Regions from separate parts of the Homo sapiens genome. Here region 1 is linked to region 2. Evidence: promoter capture Hi-C in 16 types of primary human blood cells and fetal thymus (Javierre and others, 2016). All regions are on one chromosome and are shown on one strand. The core of a region is centred on a gene start or on the middle of the fragment in contact, and the rest is flanking DNA. Distances in the headings are between cores, read along the strand shown.

The links. Contacts are between HindIII fragments. The CHiCAGO score rates a contact against its expected background, and 5 or more counts as called.
Region 1: a contact is called between a fragment that was not itself captured here and the fragment with the promoter of UBE2L6 in region 2, in 1 of 17 cell types (naive CD8 T cells). The highest score is 6.5, in naive CD8 T cells.

What each region holds. Positions count from the first base shown.
Region 1 is chr11:58,493,899-58,499,571 of GRCh38, forward strand. LOC105369313 (a long non-coding RNA gene) reads right to left here. Exons shown (of 5, transcript XR_007062673.1): 4 at 4,275-4,492; 5 at 38-4,106. Among named protein-coding and RNA genes, the nearest start is that of OR5B21, 11 kb to the right of the region's middle. The HindIII fragment of the contact is 6,463 bases long and covers 1,193-5,673 here.
Region 2 is chr11:57,563,881-57,569,336 of GRCh38, forward strand. UBE2L6 (ubiquitin conjugating enzyme E2 L6) reads right to left here and starts at 3,792. Exons shown (of 4, transcript NM_004223.5): 1 at 3,705-3,792. The coding sequence starts at 3,731. RefSeq lists an enhancer at 2,193-2,542 and a silencer at 3,796-4,155. The HindIII fragment of the contact is 19,025 bases long and covers 1-5,456 here.

The DNA.
Region 1 (5,673 bases), core at 3,174-5,673, 930 kb after region 2:
ATATCACTTGCATAAAGGATGACTCAGAGAAAAATAATTTAGAAAGAGACCAAGAACATTATTTTATTAATATAATTTCTTCTGAGAGAAAAATGAGGCTGAAATATATGACACTGCTTTCCTGTTTCTCCCCAATAATGAACCCCTAAATGGGGTTGATAGGAAGAGTCTGCTATAGATCACTCCTGTTCTCAGTTACCTCTTCCATGAAATGAAAATGCTAAGAATAATATCCACCTAATAATAATATGAAAAACATTAGGTAATATTTACTGAGCTTTACTATGAGTTAGAAATCAGCCTGCAGCAATTATGTCATGAAACCTCTACAAGCCTGATGAAAAAGATACTACTGTCTTATGATTGCTACTTTAGAGATGGGAATTACAAGACTTAGAGGTATTTTAGTAATTTCTTCCAGGTTGCATCACCAGTAAATGGCAAAAACAATATTCAAAACCAAGAAGTCTGATTTCAGAAGCCACAGCCTAAATACCAGGATAAATATCTCTTGATTAAATAAGATAAAGCATGTAATAGTAAGCACTCCATATATGAAAGTGACTACTATATTTCATCTAAGTCCTGCTTCTATGCATTCTACACTATTATCCCATGCTAGTCCACACGTGGAATTTCTTTCTTGTGTTAGTATTTATTTCAGTCTGCAGGTTCTTTCCATCTCTGCTGATAGGAAGGATCAAAATTCACTTAGAGAAGATTTTTCAATTCCTAAGAAGACTTAGCATCTCTTCAGCATGCTCTGTGAATTTCAAGGCTCTTGATTGAAGCTTCTTATCCTCTATGCATCCATGTGCTCATTAAATTCTGAAACAAGGCTCATGAACCAAAAGAAAAACGGTTAAGAACCACAGCTCTGGCTCTGATGACTGAAGCATGACTTCTGTCTCTATTTATGAGGAGTTGGGGTTTGGCACTTTTCTTCCTACTTTGAGCTTTCTGTGTTCAATGCCTAATACCACTTAGATTTTCCTTCTGTCAAAGCCCTACGGAATATTGGTACCATCACATGAGTTTTAAAAAAATTCTATGTTGTTGAAAAGTCTAAAAGTTCAGAAATAATACTTAAAACATCCCCATCTGAGATTTAAGTGTTCAGTAGGCTATTAAAGATGCTGAGAAGTACTGTAGTAATGTAACAGCAAGCTGTTTAACTTACCTGCTTATGGAAAGCTTTTTCATATGTAACCCTGTTAACTCCCCATAGCATTTTGCTTGGGGAAAAAAAAAAGTAGCATTAGACAGAAGTGTGTAATCCATGAAATTCCTGGATTGTGTCCCACTGAATACAATGCATCTCAGAATTACACTCTTTGTCCATTTCATGCCAGTTTTCAGGACAGCACATATACAATTTTCCCATTTTCATAATTCTCTCTCATTAGCTTGAGTGTTCCATGAGGATACATTTTTGTCATGTTTACCTTTAAAATACCATCACACTGTCTAGAATTTATTAGTTATAAATAAACACTTCTTGAATAAATGAATTACTCAGAACCTTTTGTTTGTTTCATTGGTGGTGAATAGAGTAAACAACCGTTCCAATTTGCCCAGAATTAAGAAATTTTCTGAGATTTGGGGCTTTCAGTGAGAAAACAGATTGTTCCAGGCAAACTAGGACAAATTGGTCATGCTATGCGGTGGTGATTTTTTATTTTGTTGATTTTTGCTTTTAATTATCATATTTGTCCACTCTGTGTGTGTGTCCAGATTTTAGCTAAACACTAGCCATGAATTAGTGTGTTTACTTCTCAAAACAGCCTCAGGAAATATGTATGATTTCGTCTCCATTTCACAGATGAAGAAATCAAGGCAAAATTTTCATGCCTTGGCCACAGATACCCAGCCTTACCCTGCTGTCTGGTTCTAGAGTCTGTGCCCTCCAAAATGAATTCTGCAGGTACAGCAAAGAGCATAAGGTCACGAAATTCATCTTTGAAAATAAGAGCTCAGTAATTCACATAGAAAATAATGTGGACAAGCACAATCCATTCCCTGCTGGGTGAGATAGAATGTGAGAGAAAGAAGTCTGGAAAGCCATAATCTTAACATTAATCCAAGATGCGAGTGAATTTGAATTTGAGCTTTTAATATGTTATATACAGGCCAAGCAAGCTGAGAGCTATTTTTAGCTCTAAGTTATGAAATACAATCACATGGACAGGTGGCCTACATTTTCAGTTTTATATTTGGTGAGGAGTTTTGCAGTCAAAGTGAGAATGCCATTGCACCGACCAGGTTTGGAAAAGGCAGCTGGAGTCCTACAGATTCTGAGCATGCTGAGCAGGACAGCTAGGTGGTGGTGTGGAGTGGGAGATAGAAAATCTGGAGCCTAGACTCAACACCACCAGTCTATCTATATGACATGGGAAAAAACATTTGAGATTTCTTTTTTTTTTTTTGCCTTAGTTTTCTCATCTGAAAAAAGGTAGAACATGATGGGGAGGTAAGAATAGAGTATAAAGGGTTTGTAGGCCAGCAAAAGAGTGAATCGGTATCCTGGTTCTATCACTTAGCATCTGTATCTGAGCCTTAGTTTTACCATCTATAAAATGGGAAATCTGATTCATAAATCACAGGTTATCATTTAGTAGAAAATGATGACACTTCTTCATCTGTTTAATCCTTGATAAGTCACTTCACATATTTGGGCCTTGGTTTTATCAACTATAAAACTAGGATAATAACCTAAATGTTAACAGGGTAATTATGAGAAACAACAAAGGTGAAAATGCCCACCAGAGCTCACAGCACACACAAAACCATCAGGAAGTATTTGAGGAGGGGACAGCTTCTAAGGCTCTTTACATCTCTAGGAAATGTGAATTTTGTGCACACTAGCCACTGTTTTCTGCTTACTTCAAGAAACAAGTCTAAAGATTTAGGATCTTATCTCTGATGTTCTTAGCAACACAAATAGCAATCTTAAAGAAGGTAAAACATTATTTGGCCATCAGAAATTATCATAGAATTAAGAGTGGATGAGGACAGCAAAAGAAACAAATAGAGTAAAAAGGGCAACTTACAGAATGGGAGAAAATATTTGCAAACTATGCATCCAACAAAGGTCTAATATCCAGAATCTATAAGGGACTCAAATTAACAAGCAAAAAACAAACAGCCTCCATTAAAAAGTGGGCAAAAGACACAAACAGTTTTCAAAAGAAAACATACAGTGAACAAGCATATGAAAGATGCTTAAAATCACTGATCATTAGAGAAATGAAAATCAAAACCACAATGAGATACCATCTCACACCAGTCAGAATGGCTATTACTAAAAAGTCAAAAAATAACAGATGCTTGTGAGGTTGCAGAGAAAAGAGAATGCTTATACACTGTTGGGGGGAACATAAATTAGTTCAGCAATTGTGGAAAACAGTGTGGCAATTTCTCAAATAACTTAAAACAGAATTCTTATTTGACCCAGCAATCCTATTACTGGGGATATGCCAGGAGGAATATAAATAGATCTGTCATAAAGACACATATACGCATATGTTCATTGCAGCACTATTCACAAGAGCAAAGACATGGAATCAACCTAAATGCCTATCAACAGTAGACTGGATAAAGAAAATGTGACACATATAACCTATGGGATAATATGCAATCATAAAAAGAAACAAGATCATGTTCTTTGCAGCAACATGGATGGAGCTGGGGGCCATTATCCTGAGTGAACTAACACAGGAACAGAAAACCAAATATCACATGTTCTCACTTGTGAGAGCTAAACATTTGAACACAAAGAATGGAACAAAAGACACCAGGGCCTACTTGAGGGTGAAGGGTGAGAAGGAGGAAGAGGGCTGAAAAACTACTTATCAGGTACTATGCTTATTACCTGGGTGACGAAATAATTTGTACACCAAACCCCCATGACACACAATTTACCTATATAACACACCTGCACATGTACCACTGAACTTAATAAAATAAAGTAAAACAAAGTAACTATTTCATACAGGGAAAAAACAGCAAATGAAGAGATCTCTCAGATTAGATTCATTGGGAAATAGACTCTGAGACTGAGATCTGTGTGCAGATGGCTCTCCAGGAAGGACTCTCAGGAACAGCATCTGTAAGGGAGAGATGGCAGCAGAATTAGAGAGAGGGAGAAATTGTGCTGCAATGCAGTCTCAATAAAGGCCTCAGCCAATCCTTTAGGGTGCTTGGGAGCTGAGATGGCTCTTGGGAGCTGTGTCAAGGAAACAGGACAAGCAGGGGCAGGCCTTCATACTACTCACTGGCCAATCTTGGATGACACTTCTACAGCTGTTTAATCTTCACCTGGAGCCATAACCTCAGGGGAGGTGGCTCCCATTGACTGAAGGAAATTCTTCGAAGGATTTCAGCTAGGAGATCCAGGTAGCACACAATCACATCCACTATCATAGACACTATTGTTTACATAAGATGCGCTTGGAATTGAAGAGAGAAATCTGACGAGCAGCCAACGAGGGACCTAAAAAGAAGTGGTTGTTGCAATTAACTTGAAAGTCAGCATACTGGCTCCTGGACACAACGTTGTCCAGCTTTAGCCAGGCTCATACATTATTCAGATAAAAAGTGACCATTATCTGAACAGAAAATCAGTAATGTGTTTATAAGGACAAACGTGTTTGTAAGAAAAATGTTTCTGACTCTATCAAAAACATTAAGCAAACTAAATGTGTGCTCATACACACAAAAGGGGTTGTGGCCGCCAGCCAGAGCAGCTGTGGTGTGTGAGGTGGTATGCAGAGTTAGAATACTGCACAAAGTCTCACTCTGTCACTTCCTGGATGTGAGAATTCAGAGACCACTTCTCCTCCCCAGGCCTCAACTTCCTAGTCAGTAACATGCAACAGGGGAACAAAAACAGCCCTAAGATCTCTTTCATCCTATGTACCAATAATTCCAGATGTTTATTACTATTGTTAGCAAGAACAAAAATAATTAAAAATGGATGCCTTGGTAGTTGCTTCATTTTCTGCTAAGTTAAATTTTGTGGCAGTGTTTCCTCTGCATTATTCATTTCCTGATAATTTTTTATAACACTTTTTGGTTTTTATTGAAATGTTGTGGACCTCTCTTTTATTATTGAGGGTGCTTTATTCCCCATACTCTTTAACATTTATAATTTTGTGAGGTCAGTGACTTCTCTCTTGTTCACTCTACTGTCCATGGAAGAGTATCTCTCACAAGCTAGAGGTATCAGTTATGTTTCATTATAGACACCAGTTCAGGCTAACTTGAAGGGAAACAAAAGAGGTAATTGAAAGGATATCAAGAGGTTTGCAGAATCAAAAGGAAACTGGGCAAAATGCAGGAACCAGGAGCACTTCAGAGGGCTAAGGAACAGAAGTCGGAAGCAAAGAACCATGTCATGTCTGGAATGGCCCCACCAACATTTCCCTGCTATAGCAAATGAGCTCCAAGCCTTGATGCTTCTTTCCATCCCTTGCAGATTCAAATTTAGGGGAGTGAGAACTTTTTGTTGGCTGAGCTTAGGACTCATGCCTGCCTCTCTATATACCTCCATGAATCTCTCTGTATAGATTTCTCTTCCTTAGGGGGCAGGGAAGGAAAGGTTATCCTTGCCTCAGCTTCCATAGACTTGTGGGTGGAGAGGGTACAGGAACTAGACACTCTTCTCCCACCAAT
Region 2 (5,456 bases), core at 2,542-5,041:
AACAGAGCGAGACTCCGTCTCAAAAATAAAAAAAAAGAATAAACAAAGAATGAAGTATGCCTACAGGATCTAGACAATGGCCTCAAAAGGGCAAATCTAAGAGTTACTGGCCTTAAATAGGAGGTAGGGAGAGAGACAGGGCTAGAAAGTTTATTCAAACGGATAGTAGCAGAGAATTTCCCAAATCTAGAGAAAGATATCAATATCCAAACATGAGAAGGTTATAGAACACCAAGCAGACTTAACCCAAAGAAGACTACCTCAAGGCATTTAATAATCAATCTCCCAGATGTCAGGGATTAAAGAAAGGGTCCTAACAGCAGCAAGAGAAAATAAACACATAACATACAATGGAGCTCCAATATGTCCAGCAGCGACTTTTCAGTGGAAATCTTACAGGCCAAGAGAGAGTGGCATGACATATTTAAATGAAATACGGCTGAGGGAAAAAATCTTTTACCCTAGAATAGTATATCCAGTGAAAATATCCTTCAAACATGAAGGAGAAATAAAGACTTTCCCAGACAAACAAAAGCTGAGAGATACCATCGACACCAGACCTGTCCTACAAGAAATGCTAAAAAGGAGTTCTTCAATCAGAAATTTAAAAAAATTTTAATGAGCAATAAAAAATCATCTGGGCTGGGCATGGTGGCTCACGCCTGTAATCCCAGCACTGTGGGAGGCCAAAGCCGGTGGATCACCTGAGGTCAGGAGTTCGAGACCAGCCTGGCTAACATGGTGAAACCACATCTCTACTAAAAATACAAAAATTAGCTGGGCGTGGTGGCGGGTGCCTGTAACCCCAGCTACTCGGGAGGCTGAGGTAAGAGAATCACTTGAACCCACGAGGCGGAGGTTGCAGTGAGCTGAGATCGTGCCATTGCACTCCAGCCTGGGCAACAAGAGCGAAACTCCGTCTCAAAAAAAAAAAGAAAGAAAAACACAGATTAGTATAACACTGTATTTATGGTATATACACTACTCATATCTTAAGTAGAAAGAGGAAAAGATGACCAATTAAATATAATAACTACAACAATTTTTCAAGAGGTAGACAGTACAATAAGAAAGAAATAGAAATGGCCGGGCACAGTGGCTCATGTAATCCCAGCACTTTGGGAGGCTGAGGTGGGTGGATCACCTGAGGTCAGGAGTTCGAGACTAGCCTGACCAACATGGAGAAACCCCGTCTCTACTAAAAATACAAAATTAGCCAGGCGTGATGGTGCCTGCCTGTAATCCCAGCTACTCAGGAGGCTGAGGCAGGAGAATCACTTGAGCCTGGGAGGCGGAGGTTGCGGTGAGCTGAGATGGCACCATTGCACTCCAGCCTGGGCAACAAGAGTGAAACTCCATCTTAAGGAAGGAAGGAAGGAAAGAAAGGGAGAGAGAAAGAAAGAAGGAAAGAAATAGAAACAACAAAAAGTTAGTAAGCGGAAAGACGAAGTTAAAGTATACAGTTTGTATTAGTTGTTTTTTTTTTTTTTTTTTTTTTTTTTGAGACAATGTCTCACTCTGTCACCCAGATTGGAGTCCAGTGGCACAATCACAGCTCACTGCAGCCTCAACCTCCTGGGCTCAGGTGATCTTGCTACCTCAGCCTCCCAAGTAGCTAGGACTACAGCAGTGTGCTACCATGCCCGGCTAATTTTGGTACTTTTTGTAGAGATGGGGTTTGGCTGTGTTACCCAGGCTGGTCTCGAACTCCTAGGCTCAAGCAGTCCGCGAACCTCAGCCTCCCAAAGTGCTGATATTACAGGAGTGGGACACCACGCCTGGCCTTCATTAGTTTTCATTTTGCTTGTTTGTTTATGTAATCAGTGTTAACTTGTCATCAGTTTAAAATAACAGGTTATAAGATATTATTTACAAACCTTGTAGTAACCTCAAATCTAAAAACATACAATGGATACATAACAGTTATGTGACCCAAAATGTCAGTAGTGATGAGGTTGAGAAACTGAAGCTCTCCAAACCCAGTCCACAAGTGGGGAGGGGTCCTTTAACACTGTGGACCATTTGAACTTTCTCTGCCTTACCCCCACCCCCAACATATAATATAAACACATCCCATGCCCCCCTCCTATCCCTCAGCCTATGTTCTATTTCTGTTCAACCAATAAGCTGCTTCTGGTGCCTTCCACCCAGGGTCAATGGCCCTTCATTTATCTTTACCCCAAACTAGAAGCATCTGCACTTGTAAGAGTTTCTCTATCATCTGTGACTCTTTGGCAAGAACAAAGCCCAGGGCTGACCGGAGAAGATCTGGAATAGACATTTTCCAGGTCTTGGAAAGATAAAGACACTTGAACTTTATCTGTTTAGGATGAGTTCTGCCAGAACTTTCCCAAAGCCTGAGGAAGTTGAAACCCAACCTAAAACACACAGTTCTTTCCTACTGCCTACTAGGAAATCACCTGACTCAGAGGAACAGAAAATGAAAGTAGAAAGGCCATTAAGAGAGCCTGCAGGCTGGAGGCCTGTGGACCTGGTTTCATATTCCAGTCCCATTGCTCCTTACTGAAAGACTCTGGACAAGCAAGTTATTTCCTCTGTGCCTCAATTTCCTCATTTGTAAAATGCGGGTATATATTACTTATCTCACAGAACTGCTGTGCGAATTAGATGAAATAACCATGTAAACCGTTTGGCATGTAATGGTTCCAATGCAATAAATTCTGGCTCCCATCTCTCTTCCACTTGGCTGGAAAGACCCTCTGCCTCATTTTGCTGCCAACCTCCAGATTTAGTATCTAGGCCAAGCCTGCTCTGGGCATCCCAGTCTGAGGCCATTTTCTTCTCAGAGGCTGAGGGTAGCAGGCACCCTCTTCCTAGAGCCTGCCCCTCCACCCTGCAGACTGGAAGGGGCACTTCTGAAAGACTTGGGGTGCCAGACTCACTTCACCAGGATCACCTTCCTCCCTAATCCATCTCCAAACACCCTGGGTTTTCCCACCTTCTGGAGGAAACTGCCCCCTCCCCATCCTTCCAGATCTTATTTCAAATTGTGTCCCTGATAGGAACAAAATTCAACAAGGGCCGGATTTGTGTTCATCTCTGCCCGCCCCCCCCCCCCTCCTAGAACAGGGCCAGCACATGTAGGCATTCAACACTTGTAGAACTCACGAACGCAAGCCACCTACTCCAGGAGGCCTTCCAGGTCCACCTCCGCATCTTTTCCTCCAGAGAATACTCAGGGAACTTTGTCCCAAATTCTAATCAGCATTCCGTGTTTCTCAGGACTCTAGTAATACAGGCATCAAATTATGGGATGGGCTATGGGCTTATTCCAAGGCAAGGACTTCATCCTGGTCATCTGTGTTCATAACCCACCACCAGCAGTAGCAGAATGCCTGGCACCAAGATGCCAAGGACTTTTCCTGCACTGGAGATGCACCCAGTTGTTATCACAAGTTTCAGGCAGGAAAAGCGAAATTGAAACCAGTTTTGGGGGAGCCGGCTCATCTTCACCACGCGAACGGCTCAAGCAGAGGCCTCCAAACCCCCAAAACCCCAGCTCTGGCCACTCTTGCAGGCCAGTCCTCCTCTGAGTAGAGGGCGGGGAGGACAGGGATTCAGCCAGCCCTGGTGCCCAGACAAATAAATAAATGTGCTCGGAGAGCCGCGGAGGGGATGGAGGGAGGAGGGAATGCGGGAGGCGAGGGGAGCCAAGAGAAAGGGGTCATCCTATACGCGGTTACCTTCACCACTCGCATGCTCGCCATCATGTCGGGACCGAGTGTGTGGCACCCGTGGCCTCCAGCAGGACCGAGCTCCGACCCGCGACACAGCGCGCCCCGCCCCGCCCCGGGGACCCCACCCCCGGCAGCCCCGCCCACCCCTCCTCCAGCCGTCGCTGCGTGGGCCTCCCCGCACCCGCTCCGGCGAGGCCAGGAGGCCGTCGAAGGACGACCCGCCGGACAACCGCCCGATCCCCGCGCGGAAGGCTCGGACCCGGGACTCACGGTCTTTGTGCGGAGACGGGGGCGGGCCTCGGGGCGCACGGCTTTGCTGATCCCTGCCTCCCGCGGGGTGCGCCGTGCACCGGCGGCGAGCGCTCAGGGGCGCTGGGGGGCGCTCATACGGGTTCCAGTCTTCGCTCCGCCGGCGGCCGCACCGGGAGCTCTCCGGTCTTTGTCAGCCCCCTGCACGCCGCCCCAAATACACACTCGCCCTGAATAAATAAGGGATGCTCGCTGTACAGACGCAGCTCCGTGACAGTTCTCAGCGGCCTCCACTATCGGACTGCCGCCTTGAGCCCCTGCCCCAGCAAGCTGCCGGAGCCGCCGAGCCTGCCGCCTTCCCTCCATGGGCCCAGCGCTCCATCTCCGAAACTGCGTGGGGGATGGCGTAGACCTGTGCCCTCCGAGCACCGCTCCCCGGCAGTCGGGGATCCTTTGTGCTGCCCGGCGTTCGGCGCGGGCTGCAACGTTTCTCCCCGTGGCTTGGGGCAGAGCACCGCAAGGAGGCGCTGTTGGACCCTTTCTCTTTTGCTTTGGGGGTTCGGTCTACCATCATTCAGTCCTTTACTAGGTTTAGTATTTACTAAGTGCCTACTGTATGCTGGTTTGGGAAACAGTTGGTGGGGGAAGCCCCAAGAAGGACTCAGGAGCCTCCTTTCCAAGAGAGAGTCTGCTTCCCCTCCCTTACTTTACTACTGGTCCATTACAAGCTGTGGGCCTAATGTGTGCCCCCATGCACAGCTGGAGTCCCCAACCCTCTGTGCAAGGACAGAGTACTTGCAGCCCCTGAGCACCAAGCAGCATCTGGGGAAGATGAGACTTGTTGGGAGGGCCGATCCCCTCCTTCTCACCCTTCCCTACCCCCGTTTAGTCCAGACGAGAAAGGAAATCAGTATATTTTGAGCACCAGTTTGTGATCTCAGTACCTCACAGTTTTTTTGTTTCTTGTTTTTCTGACAGAGTTTCACTGTCGCCCTGACTGGAGTTCAGTGGCGATATCGGCTCACTGCAACCTCCGCCTCCCGGTTCAAGCTGTTCTCGTGCCTCAGCCTCCTGAGTAGCTGAGATTTACAGGCGCGCGCCACCACGACCGGCTCATTTTTGTATTTTTAGTAGAGTCAGGGTCTCGAGCTCCTGGTTTCAAGTAATCCACCCGCCTCGGCCTCCCAAAGTGTTGGAATTACAGGCGTGAGCCACCGTAATGTTTTTATCCAAGTATTTTGAAACCAAATGACTTCTCTGCTCAGATTTTGCAGAACGATTAATTGTTTCATTCAATTCAATGAACTTTAACAGCATTTTCTATATGCCCGAAATGAATAGGACACTCCGTAATCCCTTAACAGGGGTAGAGATGAGGGAACAAAGACATTCGAACCTGCCTGTGATCAATAGTCTCAGTCAACAAGCGCCTACTACTGAGTGGCAGGCATTGCCAATAGGAAACACCAGGATGAGAAAGGGGAGTCCCTGCTCCTGAGGAGTTAGTTC